3 separate regions of the Homo sapiens genome follow, and regions 1 and 2 are each linked to region 3. Evidence: promoter capture Hi-C in human tissues and cell types (Jung and others, 2019). All regions are on one chromosome and are shown on one strand. Each heading gives the region's core, a stretch centred on a gene start or on the middle of the fragment in contact. The rest is flanking DNA. Distances are from core to core; before and after follow the strand shown. Region 1 holds the start of CBL (Cbl proto-oncogene). Region 2 has its middle 13 kb from the start of DSCAML1. Region 3 holds the start of KMT2A (lysine methyltransferase 2A).

Evidence for each region. The method cuts DNA at HindIII sites, captures the fragments that hold promoters and counts their contacts. A contact is called where the count stands out against the background at its distance.
Region 1: the fragment with the promoter of CBL here is called in contact with the fragment with the promoter of KMT2A in region 3 in 1 of the 25 tissues and cell types used here (small bowel).
Region 2: a contact is called between a fragment that was not itself captured here and the fragment with the promoter of KMT2A in region 3, in 1 of the 25 tissues and cell types used here (hippocampus).

Annotation. Positions count from the first base shown.
Region 1 is chr11:119,205,034-119,209,914 of GRCh38, forward strand. It overlaps CBL (Cbl proto-oncogene), which reads left to right and starts at 1,306. Exons shown (of 16, transcript NM_005188.4): 1 at 1,306-1,579. The coding sequence starts at 1,385. RefSeq lists silencers at 814-883, 924-1,313, 1,384-1,573, 1,764-1,823. The HindIII fragment of the contact is 26,271 bases long and covers 1-4,881 here.
Region 2 is chr11:117,807,471-117,812,215 of GRCh38, forward strand. It overlaps a transcript of DSCAML1 not described here. Among named protein-coding and RNA genes, the nearest start is that of DSCAML1, 13 kb to the left of the region's middle. RefSeq lists enhancers at 1,936-2,005, 2,056-2,105. The HindIII fragment of the contact is 6,582 bases long and covers 1-4,745 here.
Region 3 is chr11:118,434,126-118,438,612 of GRCh38, forward strand. KMT2A (lysine methyltransferase 2A) reads left to right here and starts at 2,367. Exons shown (of 36, transcript NM_001197104.2): 1 at 2,367-2,819. The coding sequence starts at 2,388. RefSeq lists enhancers at 1,339-2,336, 1,536-1,675, 2,337-3,335, 3,336-4,333 and a silencer at 1,986-2,465. The HindIII fragment of the contact is 10,858 bases long and covers 1-4,487 here.

The sequences.
Region 1 (4,881 bases), core at 56-2,555, 770 kb after region 3:
CATTCAAAGATATTTTCCCCTTTACAGGAGCACCGGATAAATTTAACTCCCTAATCTGTCAAGGGCTTTGTGGAAGAGCCTGGAGGGGGATCGAAGGCGGAACTGATACTGACACACCTGGGTCTGCAAACTCCCAAAACTGAGGCTCAGAATTAGTAAATTAGGGCAGGGCACTTCCCTCTTTGGAAGGGAAGTTCCTATTTTCAAAGTTCTTCCAACGGAACTTTTACATTAGAGAAGTGTAATTGACTGAGAAGTGGAAGTGACCAGGAACAGCATTTCTGTTCCCTGGGCGGGAGAGAGAACCCCCTCGGGCGGAGCCAGCAGCAGGTCAGCTTCTGAGGGGGCCCTCATGCTGGCGGCGCCGACCTGTGGTGCAATGCTCTGAGTAGGAGAATCTTAAATACATGTTTGAGATTCAATTCCCAGAAACGTAACTAGTCTTCACAAGCCAAAAAAATAAAAATAAAAAATAAAAAAAGGAAGTGATTTCTTTTCAAGAGGTCAAAGGGCCTGGAAGAAGAGGTCCTGGCTTGAGTGTCTCAAGGCTTTCTGGGGCCTAATCCGGCTGGAATGGGCCGCAGCATTCATATTCCTGTCCTTGGTCGTGTCTTAATGAAGAATTGAAAATAATAAGGGGTGGAGAAATAACTTTCCTTTTTCTCCCACCATCCTCCCACAGTGTAAATAAACAAATAACTCTAAGCTCGATTTCCTCATTTGTCAGGGGTGGGGAAAGACTTGACATCAGGACTCTTCCATTCCATCGCCACCTGTCTTAATTTAAACATTCCCATGACCCACCCCAGAAGCGCCAACCTCCCGCCCACAAGGAGCATGGAAGTCTTGGTTTCTGGCTACTGCGCAGACTCCACCTTGGACCTACTCCCCAACCCCCCGCCGCTCCTTTCCCCGTTTCTCCAGCAGAGGGCGCAGGCCCAAAGGTTCCGCCGACCCCGCCCCAGCCTGGCCCCGCCCCGCCCCGGCGTAGGGGCGGGGAAGACGGGCACAGAAACCTGGCCGCGGCTTTCCGGGAGCTGTGGGCACGCGAGCTGCTCGAAGCCGGTGGCCCGGGGATCGTCGCTGCCCAGTCCGGCCGCGGCCGGCCGCTTCCCCGAGCTTACCAGTAAGCCGGTCCGCCTCCGGGACGCGCCCCGCCCGCCCCGGGCTCGCGCGCTCTGAAGGGGCGCGTCCCGCGCACTCCCGGCGCCGCCCACTCCCCTCCCCACGGCCGCTCCTCCCTCCGCCCGGATAGCCGGCGGCGGCGGCGGCGGCGGCGGCGGCGGCGGCCGGGAGAGGCCCCTCCTTCACGCCCTGCTTCTCTCCCTCGCTCGCAGTCGAGCCGAGCCGGCGGACCCGCCTGGGCTCCGACCCTGCCCAGGCCATGGCCGGCAACGTGAAGAAGAGCTCTGGGGCCGGGGGCGGCAGCGGCTCCGGGGGCTCGGGTTCGGGTGGCCTGATTGGGCTCATGAAGGACGCCTTCCAGCCGCACCACCACCACCACCACCACCTCAGCCCCCACCCGCCGGGGACGGTGGACAAGAAGATGGTGGAGAAGTGCTGGAAGCTCATGGACAAGGTGAAAGGCCGGCTGAGCGCCCGCTGTTGCAGGGTGGGCGTGGGCGGAGGGCCGCGGGGAGGGGAACGAGCGGACGGAGGAAGCGGGGGAGGGGACGGGTCTGGTGAAGCCGGGGAGGCGCGGAGCCGGGGTGACCGGCCGGGGGCGTGGGGGCAGGGACGAGGCCGGGAGGGTGGGGGGCGGCGTGGGGGAGGGGCTGCCGTTGGGAGTCGGGGAACGCTGGGGTGCCGCGTTTGGGGTAGCCAGACAAAGATGGAGTGGGGGCTGGGGCGAAGGTTAACTGGGAAGTCAGTGGGGCGGAAGTACAATGAGGGGTGCGGAGTTTGGGGCTCTGTGCAGGGTGTAGGGATGTAGGTCACGGAATTGGCCTGGGAGGTTAGCAGGGAGGGGGTGAGGAAGAGTGATGTACCGGCTGGGGCTCTTGGCTGGGTGAGATCTGACTAGGGAATTAGGTTCATGGGCTCTGACTGAGGAACCTGGCTGGGGTCAGGACAGCTCTCAGGGAAGCTGTGCTCTGGGTGAGAGTATAGTCCTTTCTCATTAAGATGTAACACGAAGATAAAAGACATATTGATGTTTAAGTGAGGCAAGGAAAGAACTTTCCTCCCCATCTAGCGCCGGCTCAAGTTTTTTGTTACCCTCAGAAACACTGGATGTGATCCATTGCTGGTGCTGAGATATGCACTGATTAAACCACAAGTTCTGGTTAGAACTATTATCTTCTGAAAGATGGACTGGCTGAGCCTGTTAAGCAGCAGCAGATTCTGACTTCTTAATAACTTCCTCCCTACTACATCGCTTGAGCTGGGTTCTTTTTTTCTGGTAACGGTTCTGACTCCTTATTACAGGTCCTGACTTTAAACTTGTTCGTTGAGCTTCTTTGATTACGCTTTTTTGTTTGTTTGCTTTTTGCAAGTGCGAACAAAAATAACTCCTTTATATTTAGCCACTAAGTTTGTCATTTGGGAGAATTTTACTTCCTTATAGTTGTGTCTATATGATGAAATGTAGTCAGTCTCAAGTATTTAACTGTTTAAGCAGTCGGACGCTTTGTCAGAATTCAATACGTTTTCTTGGTATTTTTCATATTCTTTAATTAATTACTTTGACAAAATTCATATTGCGTATGAAAAGTGATTAGAAGTATCTGGCACGTTTTAAGAGAATGGTGTTATTTCCTCCAGGGTAAAATTTGGTTTTCTTTGGTTCCTCCCTGGGCCTCGGTTCCTCTTCTGTAAAGTTCTTCATGGGTTGCTTTGGACTAGAAACCGCTAATAAAATGATTATGAAGCACTTAGCCAATGTAATGTGCAATTTAAATGCTTAATAAGTCCTGTGTGTGAATTAACACTCCAGTAGTGCATGCCAGTGGTTTCATAGCCACCTTTTTAGGGCTGGCTTTTCTCATGTTAAATAATTGGTATTGTAATTAATGACACAAGTATTCGTGTGTTGATTATATTGGTGGTGTAGTACTAATTTTATTGTTAGAAATTATAATAAAATCCTTACAGAAAGTTTAGGTGTGTAAAGGAAACTTTAAATGTGTCGACTCCTTTAAAAAAAACACATCGAAGATATTCAAATGCTAAAGTTTGTTAGTTTGCTTTTTAGGGATTTATCGTTAAGGACTACAAATTTTACTCTGGCATAGAAAAAATACTTTTCTAATGAGTGTCTCGTATCAGACATGTGGGTGCAGTACAATCAAAATTGTGTTGATTAGTGGCCTCTGCTTAAGAATAATCTGTTTACTAAAGAGTTTCTGTATTCTGTATTCTTTTTTTTTTTTTGAGACGGAGTTTTTCGCTCTTGTTACCCAGGCTGGAGTGCATGGTGCGATCTCGACTCACTGCAACCTCCGCCTCCTGGGTTCAAGACATTCTCGTGCCTCAGCCTCCCGAGTAGCTGGGATTACAGGTGCGCGCCACCACGCCCAGCTAATTTTTTGTATTTTTAGTAGAGACGGGGTTTCATCATGTTGACCAGGCTCGTCTCGAACTCCTGACCTCAGGTGATCCATGCGCCACGGCCTCCCAAAGTGCTGGGATTACAGGTGTGAGCCACTGGGCCTGGCCCTGTATTCTTAAAGAATAAGAGTATTCTGTATTCTTATTAAAGTGTTTCTATAAATACAGAGTAAGTTGTAGATAGTCCTATTCTACAAGGTAGCCCAAATAAAATCCTCCCTTAAGTCTTACTCCTTCATCTATTTAAAGTATGTGTATTGAATTTTGATTTATTCTGCAGAATGTTTAATTATTTGGGAAGAATAAAGAGGACTCAAAGTTTAGACTCAAATTGCTTTTCAGGTTTGATAGTTTCACGGAAAGTAGGCTTCTAGCTTTTCCCTTCCAGTGTAGGGAGAGGGATGTTTTATTTTTGTATTACTTGCCTCGGAAGTTGATTTTAATACTGTCTGTTCCCCTCTTATCACGTATTTCTAGTTGCTCTGAAAACGTAGTACTTTCTAATGTGTTAGTCTGATACGTTTATACTGCTTTCCAGATTTTCTGAATACCTCTGTGATGTTACTAGATTGCACCATCTCTTTTACCCTTGATGTTTTGAGCATAAGGTGTCCTCTTTTTTCACTTTATTTTTATTGTTGAAAGTCTTAAATGTGTCACCACACCTTGACTTCATGTGCTATAAGTGGTGAAGAACCTACTGTCAAATCCACAGATGTCCCACACATTTAATTCTTTTTAACAAAATTTCTGGGCCGGGCCCCGTGGCTCACGCTTGTAATCCCAGCACTTTGGGAGGCCGAGGTGGGCGGCTCACTTGAGGTCAGGAGCTCCAGACCAGCTCTGCCAACATGGTGAAATGCTGCCTCTACTAAAAAATACAAAAATTAGCTGGGTGTGGTGGCAGACGCCTGTAATCCCAGCTACTTGGGAGACTGGGACAGGAGAATCCCTTGAACCTGGGGCAGAGGTTGCAGTGAGCCAAGATCGCACCACTGCACTCTAGCCTGAGCGACAGAGTGAGACTCCGTCTCAAAAAAAAAAAAAAGTCTGTTTAATTCTTTTAAATGACACACATTTAGTTCTAAGTCACCATCTCATACCTGCTTTATCTTTGTTGTTGAAGCTGGATGAATATTATTCCAGCCAACTCTTAATCAGTTTATTGAATTAGCACTGGGAGCTGTTAGTCTCTTTCCTTCCCCCAATATTGGATATATACAGATGGAAAAAGTTGGCATAAGTCATGGGTTCTGGTTAACATAGGCCCGATTTACTAATCCATTATGGAACTTAAACTTAACTGTTGGAAAAATGTTTGTGCTAGAATGC
Region 2 (4,745 bases), core at 1,771-4,270, 630 kb before region 3:
GGAGCCAAGAACCTGGAGTCAGAGATTCACCGCACTTCTCATGAGCTGGGAGGACCAAGTCTCACCTTTTTGGTCTGTGGAAGTGGGAACAGAACACCGACCCTGCAGCGTGGCTGTGAATGTCTAAGGAGATGGGCAAGTTTTCTCCGCAGAGTTGTTTAGCTAGAGAAGGTCACAGTACCTGCCATGGCCAGCAGGTGTCGCCCAAAGACTGAGTATGAGAAACCTTTGGGCGGGATGGGGGCTCCTCCATGGAGATTATCTTTCAATATTAGATACAGCTGGACTTGGAAGAAGTGGAAGAAAATTCAGCCTGAAGGGTTTCTCCTTTGAAAACTCAGTCTGGTTCTGGCTTTCGTCGGAGTTAAAAATTGGAGCTTTGCAGTTTTCACCCAGGCTAGAGTGCAAAGGCGTGGTCTCGGCTCACTGCAACCTCCACCTCCTGGGTTCAAATGATTCTCCCACCTCAGCCTCCCGAGTAGCTGGGACTACAGGTGCATGCCACCACACCCAGCTAATTTTTGCATTTTTAGTAGAGATGGGGTTTCACTTTGTAGGCCAGGCTGGTCCTGAACTCCTGACCTCGTGATCCGCCCGCCTAGGCTTCCCAAAGTGGTGCGATTACAGGCGTGAGCTACCGCGCCCGGCCTGCAGTTTTCAAAGTATGCTCACATGAAGATACCACAGCAAGACAGACATCAATATCCGCATGTTACAGATGAGGAAATTGAGGCTTCAGAAAGAGAGTGACTTGCTAAAAATTATGCAGGCACTAAATGACAGAGCCATTAAGTGACAAAATATAGAATTAGAAGGCCTTCGGACTCTATATTCTGGGCAATCTGCCGACACATTCCTATGGGTCAAACCTTTAGGAGGAGTCCTGAGACCATGGCTGGGCTGTCCCTGCCCCTCTGGAAAAGATAATAGGCGCATGCCCGAAGCCCCTGGCATGCGACATGCTATCCCCTGAGAGCATTTGCCATCTCTGGGTCTCAGTGGCTCCGAAACCACACAACTACACATGCACACAGGCACAGGTGAGGTGAAGGAGAGAGAGATCCCAGACTACAGAATCCGGGATCTGTATTTTCTGTTTCCCAGTATTTGGATGTAAGAAGCTTAGCATAGGTCTTGGGGCTGGCATTTGGGAAATCCTGAACTAGAAGATAAACTAGAAGGTTTATGTTCTGTAGTTTCATAAACACTATCCACTTAAGCTTGTCAAAAACACTAATACAGTGTCTGGCACATACTTGATAGTCAACAAAAATTTGCTGAATAATAAATGGCTGAAAAACACGCAATCACCCAGCCCAGCAGAAGCCTTGGTGAACACTGCTTCATCCCTCACCCACTTTACATGTTCGCAGCACTTTGTGGCGTACATATCTCATTTACACACATGATCTCGTTCAATCTCTTTAATGAGTTGGATATCACAAACCCCATCTCACAGATGAGAAAACTGAGGCTCCGAGACACTAAAGGACTTCCCCAGGGCTGCCCAGGTGGTCAGTGACCGAGCCAAGCTCACGCCCACGCCTGTCTACCCTGCTCTAGCAGCTCCGTCACTGCCCCGCCCCTGCTTCATATCATTTCCACTGCGAAGCTTGAGAGGAGGAAAAATCCATCCAGAGAGAATGAATCTTCCAGATCCGTTGGGAATGCCTCAGATTTAGGAGAGGCGACCTCAGGAGTTTGCCCTGAGACCCCAGGCTCAGGAGAAGTCTTGCCTCATTTGGCGAAGGGGCTCAGTGCAGACCTCCAGGGTGGGGCAGGTCCTGGGAGGCCAGCTGCCGCGTCTGCACTCCTGGAAAGTGCAGTGTGGGAAGGGTGGGAGCTGTGGGAAGGGAGGGGAGCCCTCCTCCCCGCTGTGCCTGACTCCTTGGGCGTGGCTCTGATGGCTGGAGAGGACAACCCGCCTCCCTGGCCCACTACTGGATGTGTCTCTGCGGTCCTCCGCGGAAGGAAGCTCCAGGCCTCCGCACTGGGAACCTGGTGTCTGCCTCCCCCTAGTGCCACAGGACAGGATGGTGGCGCCGCAGGCTGCTGTGCAGTACAACATAGACGGCGGCCACTCAAATTCTCCACTACACAGGTCCTGCCCTTCACCCCAGTCATGTCTCGCAGTGAAGCCGGAGGCTGGGCTCACTCCCTGCCCCAGCCTGTGTCCTTGCCAGCCTCTAAGAACTACTGGAGGGGACCAATGGTGTCCTCCAAAACAGACCTCTGATTCTCAGCTGAGGAGGCTGAATCGCCGCGCAGCGCTCCAGATGCTAGGTCCACCCACGCAACCCTCCTGGGTTGCTCTGCTCCTCCCCAGTTCCAGCTCAACTAGCAACGCACAACACACACAAACTCACACAGTCACATACACACTCACACTCACTTACACATTCACATACTCTTACACACACACACCCACACACTCACACACACATTCACACATTCACACACACGCATATTCACATACACACATTCACACACTCACACATTCACACACACTCATACACACATTCACATACACACATTCCCACACTCACACATATTCAAATATTTTCACACACATTCACACTCACACACATTCACACACTCACTTACACATTCGCACACACATACACACATTCACATACATACATATTCACATTTCAATCTTGGCGCCACACTTCAATCTCTCCCTTCTCTTAATTTCAATTCCTTTCATTTTCTGATAGAGACAAAGGAGACACGTGGACCCAAAACTCCGTGGACCCAAACTCCGTGGACCCAAAACTCCGTGGACTCAAAACTCCAGCGCCCTCTGGGGGAGGGGCAAGTACCCCTCAACCCCTTCTCCTTCACCCTTAGTGGCAAGTCCCGCTTTTCTAGGGGGCAAGAACCCCCAATCCCTTATTTCCGCACCCCGACCTCTTATCTCTGTGTCCCAATCCCTTATTTCCGCACCCCGACCTCTTATCTCTGTGCCCCAATCCCTTATTTCCGTGCCCCAACCCTTTCTCTGCTTTTCTGGAGGGCAAGAAACCCCCACCCCCTTCTCCGTATCTCTACTCTTTTCTCTAGGCTTGCCTCCTTCACTATGGGCAAGCTTCCACCTTCCATTCCTCCTTCTTCTCCCTTAGCCTGTATCCTTAAGAACTTAAAACCTCTTCAACTCTCACCTGACCTAAAATCAAAGTGTCTTATTTTCTTCTGCAATGCCGCTTGACCCCAATACAAACTCGACAGTAGTTCCAAATAGCCGGAAAACAGCTCTTTCAATTTTTCCATCCTACAAGAGCTAAATAATTCTTGTCGTAAAATGGGCAAATGATCTGAGGTGCCTGACGTCCACGCATTCTTTTACACATCAGTCCCTTCCTAGTCTCTGTGCCCAGTGCAACTCGTCCCAAATCTTCCTTCTTTCCCTCCCGCCTGTCCCCTCAGTCCCAACCCCAAGCGTCGCTGAGTCTTTCTAATCTTCCTTTTCTACAGACCCATCTGACCTCTCCCCTCCTCGCCAGACCAAGCTAGGTCCCATTTCTTCCTCAGCCTCCGCTCCTCCACCCTGTAATCTTTTTATCGCCTCTCCTCCTCACACCCGGTCTGACTTACAGTTTCGTTCTGTGACTAGCCCTCCCCCACCTGCCCAGCAATTTACTCTTAAAAAGGTGGCTGGAGCTAAAGGCATAGTCAAGGTTAATGCTCCTTTTTCTTTATCCCAAATCAGATAGCGTTTAGGCTCTTTTTCATCAAATATAAAACCCCAGCCGAGTTCATGGCTCGTTCGGCAGCAACCCTGAGAAGCTTTACAGCCCTAGACCCTAAAAGGTCAAAAGGCCATCTTATTCTCAATATACATTTTATTACCCAATCTGCTCCCGACATTAAATAAAACTCCAAAAATTAGAATCTGGCCCTCAAACCCCACAACAGGACTTAATTAACCTCACCTTCAAGGTGTACAATAATAAAAAAAGTTGCAATTCCTTACCTCCACTGTGAGACAAACCCCAGCTACATCTCCAGCACACAAGAACTTCCAAACGCCTGAACTGCAGCGGCCAGGCGTTCCTCCAGAACCTCCTCCCCCAGGAGCTTACTACAAGTGCTAGAAATCTGGACACCAGGCCAAGGAATGCCTGCAGCCCAGGATTCCTCCTAAGCCGTGTCCCATCTGCGCGGGACCCCACTGGAAATCGGACTGTTCAACTCACCTGGCAGCCACTCCCAGAGCCCCTGGAACTCTGGCCCAAGGCTCCCTGACTGACTCCTTCTCGGCTTAGCAGCTGAAGACTGAGGCTGCCTGATTGCCTTGGAAGCCCCGTAGACCATCGCGGATGCCGAGCTTTAAGTAACTCTCACAGTGGAGTGTAAGTCCATCCCCTTCTTAATCAATACGGAGGCTACCCACTCCACATTACCTTCTTTTCAAAGGCCTGTTTCCCTTGCCTCCATAACTGCTGTGCGTATTGACAGCCAGACTTCTAAACCTCTTAAAACTCCCCAACTCTGGTGCCAACTTAGACAACACTCTTTTATGCACTCTTTTTTAGTTATCTCCACCTGCCCAGTTCCCTTATTAGGCCGAGATATTTTAACCAAATTATCTGCTTCCCTGACTATTCCTGGATTACAGCTGCATCTCATTGCTGCCCTTCTTCCCAATCCAAAGCCTCCTTTGCGTCCTCCTCTTGTATTCCCCCACCTTAACCCACAAGAGACCTCTACTCCCTCCTTGGCGACCAATCATGCACCCCTTACCA
Region 3 (4,487 bases), core at 1,117-3,616:
GAGGCAAAGAGACAAACTATATGATTTCTCAAGGAGTTTTTCTGCTCAGAGGCTTGAGTCTGGGGACTCCACACAATATTCGAAGACATTCTTCCTTCTTTCTGCTGCCTTGCAACCTGCAGACCTCCCACCTGTGTTAAATGAAGAATGCTTGAAGTGAGGTTACTCAGAACCCACCCGGTTCATGTTTTCTCAAGGGTAGAAGGCGGGAAGAAATCTGTTGACACAGTTATATAAAGCCTGTCATTCAGTCCCCTGCCTATTACCTCTGCAGACCGTTATGCATATTAAAGAAGGGGGGGCGGCAAATACAAAAGAAAAATAAGAGAGACGAGAGAGAGAGAGAAAGAGAGAGAGAGAGAGAGAGAACGAACAAATCAGGATGCTTGAGGGAATCCACGTGGTCGCCAATCTGTAACTGATCAGAGCAGCTACACTGAAGCAAAAACCCCAGCGCCCAACGCTAAATATATTGCAATGGAGAAACCGTCCACAATGGGGTGTCTCTGTCCTTAGCAGAGCCTTGGGGCTGCCGTTTAAGACCCTCCTGCTACTCCCACCCTTTTAGCATCTAGTAAACCACGCGCTGTAACAACGGAATCTTGTTCTGTGTATTGCGTTGTGCGAGTGTGCGCTTTGCAAACCATCTGGGCCCCATCCTGCGCGGTTGGAACGAAGATCGATTCGGGACGAGTTGGGGGAGTTGAGGCTTGCCTGTGTCTCCTCCCTTTCATTGCTCCTCTCCAGCCCCCATCCCATCGTCCGCTCTGCACAAATGTTTCGCCAGTGGAGGGACGTAGGTTTTCAGCACCAGGAGGCTGTGGACCTTCTCTGGAGGCGTGAAGTGCACCCTCCGGAGGGCCAGAGCTGAGTGCAACCTGCTCACAACGACCCTCTCCCTCCTTCCCAAATTCGCCGCCCCAGGCTGTAATATTACATGCAGTGCGCTGTACCGGTGCGGGAGTCCAGGAAGGCTGCATGACCTTCCAGCGAACTCCCCCTCGGCTTGGGGGATGGAGGCTGCCCCGGGGCCTGCAGGCTGTGTATCGATCCCCCAGCCTCAGCCAACGCAAGTTCTCCCGACACAAACCCCTCCCTACCCTCTCGGCTTTCCCAGCCTTGCAGGCGTCTAACGCTATGCTCGAGGCGCCCTCCCCTCTTTCCCGCAATAAAGTAAACCCGGTGGATATTCATTCCCCTCCCTAACTCGCCTCCTTCTTTCCCCCTCCCCCCTCAGCTTACTAACCCCGCGCACAGAGCTCGCCGCCGGCGGGCCCCTTCCACCCAGTGTATCATAATGCCCAACGCTCTCCTCCTCCCCCTCTCTTAATCAGAAACGTGCTCGCGAGCCCCCCTCCCTCTGCGTGCATACATTAGGGTCTGCTTTGCATGCAGCGGCAGGCAGAGACCGGAGGAAGAAGGGGCGGGGGCGCTTTTGCCCGCCTCTTCCCTCCAGGCCCCGTTAGCCACCCAGCTTCAGCTTCGTTGTAACACCGCGTCGTTAGCGGAGCACGCCGTGGCCTCAGTGCCCGGGCTGGAGAAACACAACCCAACTCCCTGCAGAAGGGCACGAAAGCCAGACGAGTGCACAGTAGAGCGAGGAGGTGGCAGGAGACCTGCCACTCGGTGTGTGCTTTTTGGAAAGAGCTCCAGCATGAAAATGGGAGGGGCTCCTTTTTTATTTTTTAAAGTGCGTTCATTGAGGGCCTTTCTGTTTTGCATATAGTAAACTGGGCAGCGCTTCTGTTTTGCATGTAGTACAATAAGGGCTCTTTTATTCTAGAAGCGTTCAATTCGGGCTAACCCATCTTGTATCCGTGCCCTGGGGCGGAGGAGAAGGCTCACTGCTCCCCGACCCAGCCGCCGCGTTATACTGGAAGCTGCTCTCCCGGGCTGTTCGATTCCCAGCGCGTCCCGGGAACGTGTGTAATCGGCCTCTCGGCGCTCAAGGCTGCAGGCGGCCCGGCTCCCTACGCCTCCATCCTCCGCGTAGTCCTCGCCCCCTCCCCCTCTCTCCGGAACCCGCGCTCTGCTCCGGGCTCCCGGGCTTCCTTCCCCCCTCCTTTTCCCGAGCAATGCCTCTCCCGGAGGGCGGGGCATGCAGTTATCCAGGTTGCGGGGCCGGCGGGCGGGCAGGAGGCGGCGGCCCGGGCCTCGGGATGGAGTTGCAGCGCCCAGGCGTCAGAGGCGGAGGCCCGAGGCCGCTATACAGATTGCGGGGCTGGCGGGCGCGGCCCGGCGCTCTGCATAGCGGCCGGCAGGGTGCAGGCGGCCGGGCGGCGCAGAGCTGGTTAGGCAGGTTCCGGGGCCCCGTGCCCCCCCCTCCGCCTCCCCGCCCCCCTGTGTTGTCGCCTCTCCCTCTCGCTGCTTCACTTCACGGGGCGAACATGGCGCACAGCTGTCGGTGGCGCTTCCCCGCCCGACCCGGGACCACCGGGGGCGGCGGCGGCGGGGGGCGCCGGGGCCTAGGGGGCGCCCCGCGGCAACGCGTCCCGGCCCTGCTGCTTCCCCCCGGGCCCCCGGTCGGCGGTGGCGGCCCCGGGGCGCCCCCCTCCCCCCCGGCTGTGGCGGCCGCGGCGGCGGCGGCGGGAAGCAGCGGGGCTGGGGTTCCAGGGGGAGCGGCCGCCGCCTCAGCAGCCTCCTCGTCGTCCGCCTCGTCTTCGTCTTCGTCATCGTCCTCAGCCTCTTCAGGGCCGGCCCTGCTCCGGGTGGGCCCGGGCTTCGACGCGGCGCTGCAGGTCTCGGCCGCCATCGGCACCAACCTGCGCCGGTTCCGGGCCGTGTTTGGGGAGAGCGGCGGGGGAGGCGGCAGCGGAGAGGTAAGGGGGCGAGGAACCCCCAGGTCCGGGGTCTCGACCCTCTGCGGAGCCCCCTCCCCTCCCCCATCCGGGATTGAGGAGCATCCCAATTCTGGGACCATCTCGGGGTCCCTGACCCGGGGCGAATGGCTCTCCCATCTTGGGACCCCCATGCAGGGCTGCAGACCCCCAGGCGCCCCCACCCCGGGGTTTGGGCCCATCTGGCTGAGGGCGTTTGCCCCCCGCTCTCCTCCCCCTGACCCTTCCCCAAATCCCTTGGCACAGACCCCCTCGCCGGGGTTTCCCATCCCGGGACTGAACCCCTCCTCCCTTTCACAGATTACCTCATCCGAGCAAGATTCCTCCCTCCCTCCCTCCTAGAGACCTGATCCCGCCACATCCCCGCCTCCCTCTCTGGGCAGATGTGTTACTCCTAGGGCAGTTTTCCTCTCGGGCGTCTCTCGGGTGATGGCCTCATCCAGGGCCACGTTCTCCTGGCCCTTGGGGATCGTGTCCCTTCCAGCACCTTGCTTTCGAAAACCCGATGAACCCTCGCGCCATCCCCGGGCCAGGTCCCTATACTGCCAGCCACTCCCCCTTCCTTCACCTCCACCCTCTACCCCCACCCCAAGCAGACCGATCCTCCCCCATCCCGCCCTACCCCACCGGGGAAAATCTCTCCTCTGCACCTTGCCTGGTCTCACCTCCTTTCCCTCTGAAGATAACGGTGATTCCTCATACAGCAGTCTCTTCCCCCCCCCGCCCCGTCTTACAGGGCTACAGTTTCTAGCCTATTGGTAGCCGGGAATTACTCTACCTTCACTCCACCCTTTCCCTCCTTTAGAATGAAGGATTAGTGGCATCTTGGAGGGGAAAATAGTCCACTGTCCCCTAGGCTTAGAGAAGAGCAGCTTTCCACCACTCCCCTTGGAGAGGAGGCAGGCTTTCCCTCCAGCTCTGGGGAAGGGGGCCCCTGTGAGGGGAGGTGTTTGTTGGGGGACTGAGGCAGCATCCTCCCAGGGGAAGCAGCTGCTCTCCTACCCCACCCACTGCGCCTGAGAGCACGCAGTCTCCAACCCGAGCTCCCTCCCGCCCTTCTCTTCTCGTCATTTCATTATTGATCCACCTTTTCCTAGGCCAATCCTGGGGCTTGGAAGGGGTGGGGGAAGCCAGGTTGGGGTGAGGAGAGTAGATAAGGGACAGTTATACTTTAGTGTGGTGGCGGTGGTTGCTTTGGGATGGGAGAAAAAGGATTATCAAGCAAAGTTATTCCTTAGAAAGGACTTGGGGTTGTCTCTGATTCTTGTAAGGGGACCCAAGGTGGATGAAGGGTCAGAGCGTTGCCCCTTCCCCATTAGTACTGGGGCAAGAACGGAGTTGCTTCTATAAACATTATTCGGCCCCCTTCAGCAAAAAGGAAAGTTGCCCAAGGAAGGGAAGTTGAGTTCAGGTTCAGCCAGTGGCGTTGCGCATTTGTTTTCCATTGGATGCAGAAGGGGGGAGTTCGAATTGTAGAGGGGGGAGGATGGCATGGGGGATGCTAGGAGGAGGAAGAGCAGCTGCTAGGGGCTGAAGCGAAGGGGGGTAGGGGGTTGCTGCTCTGGAGTGCTCTTGATTGAAACAGAAAGGGAAAGATAACAACCAGCCGTTTCCTGCGTGCTCTGCCGTTGGTGCACACAAAATATCCTG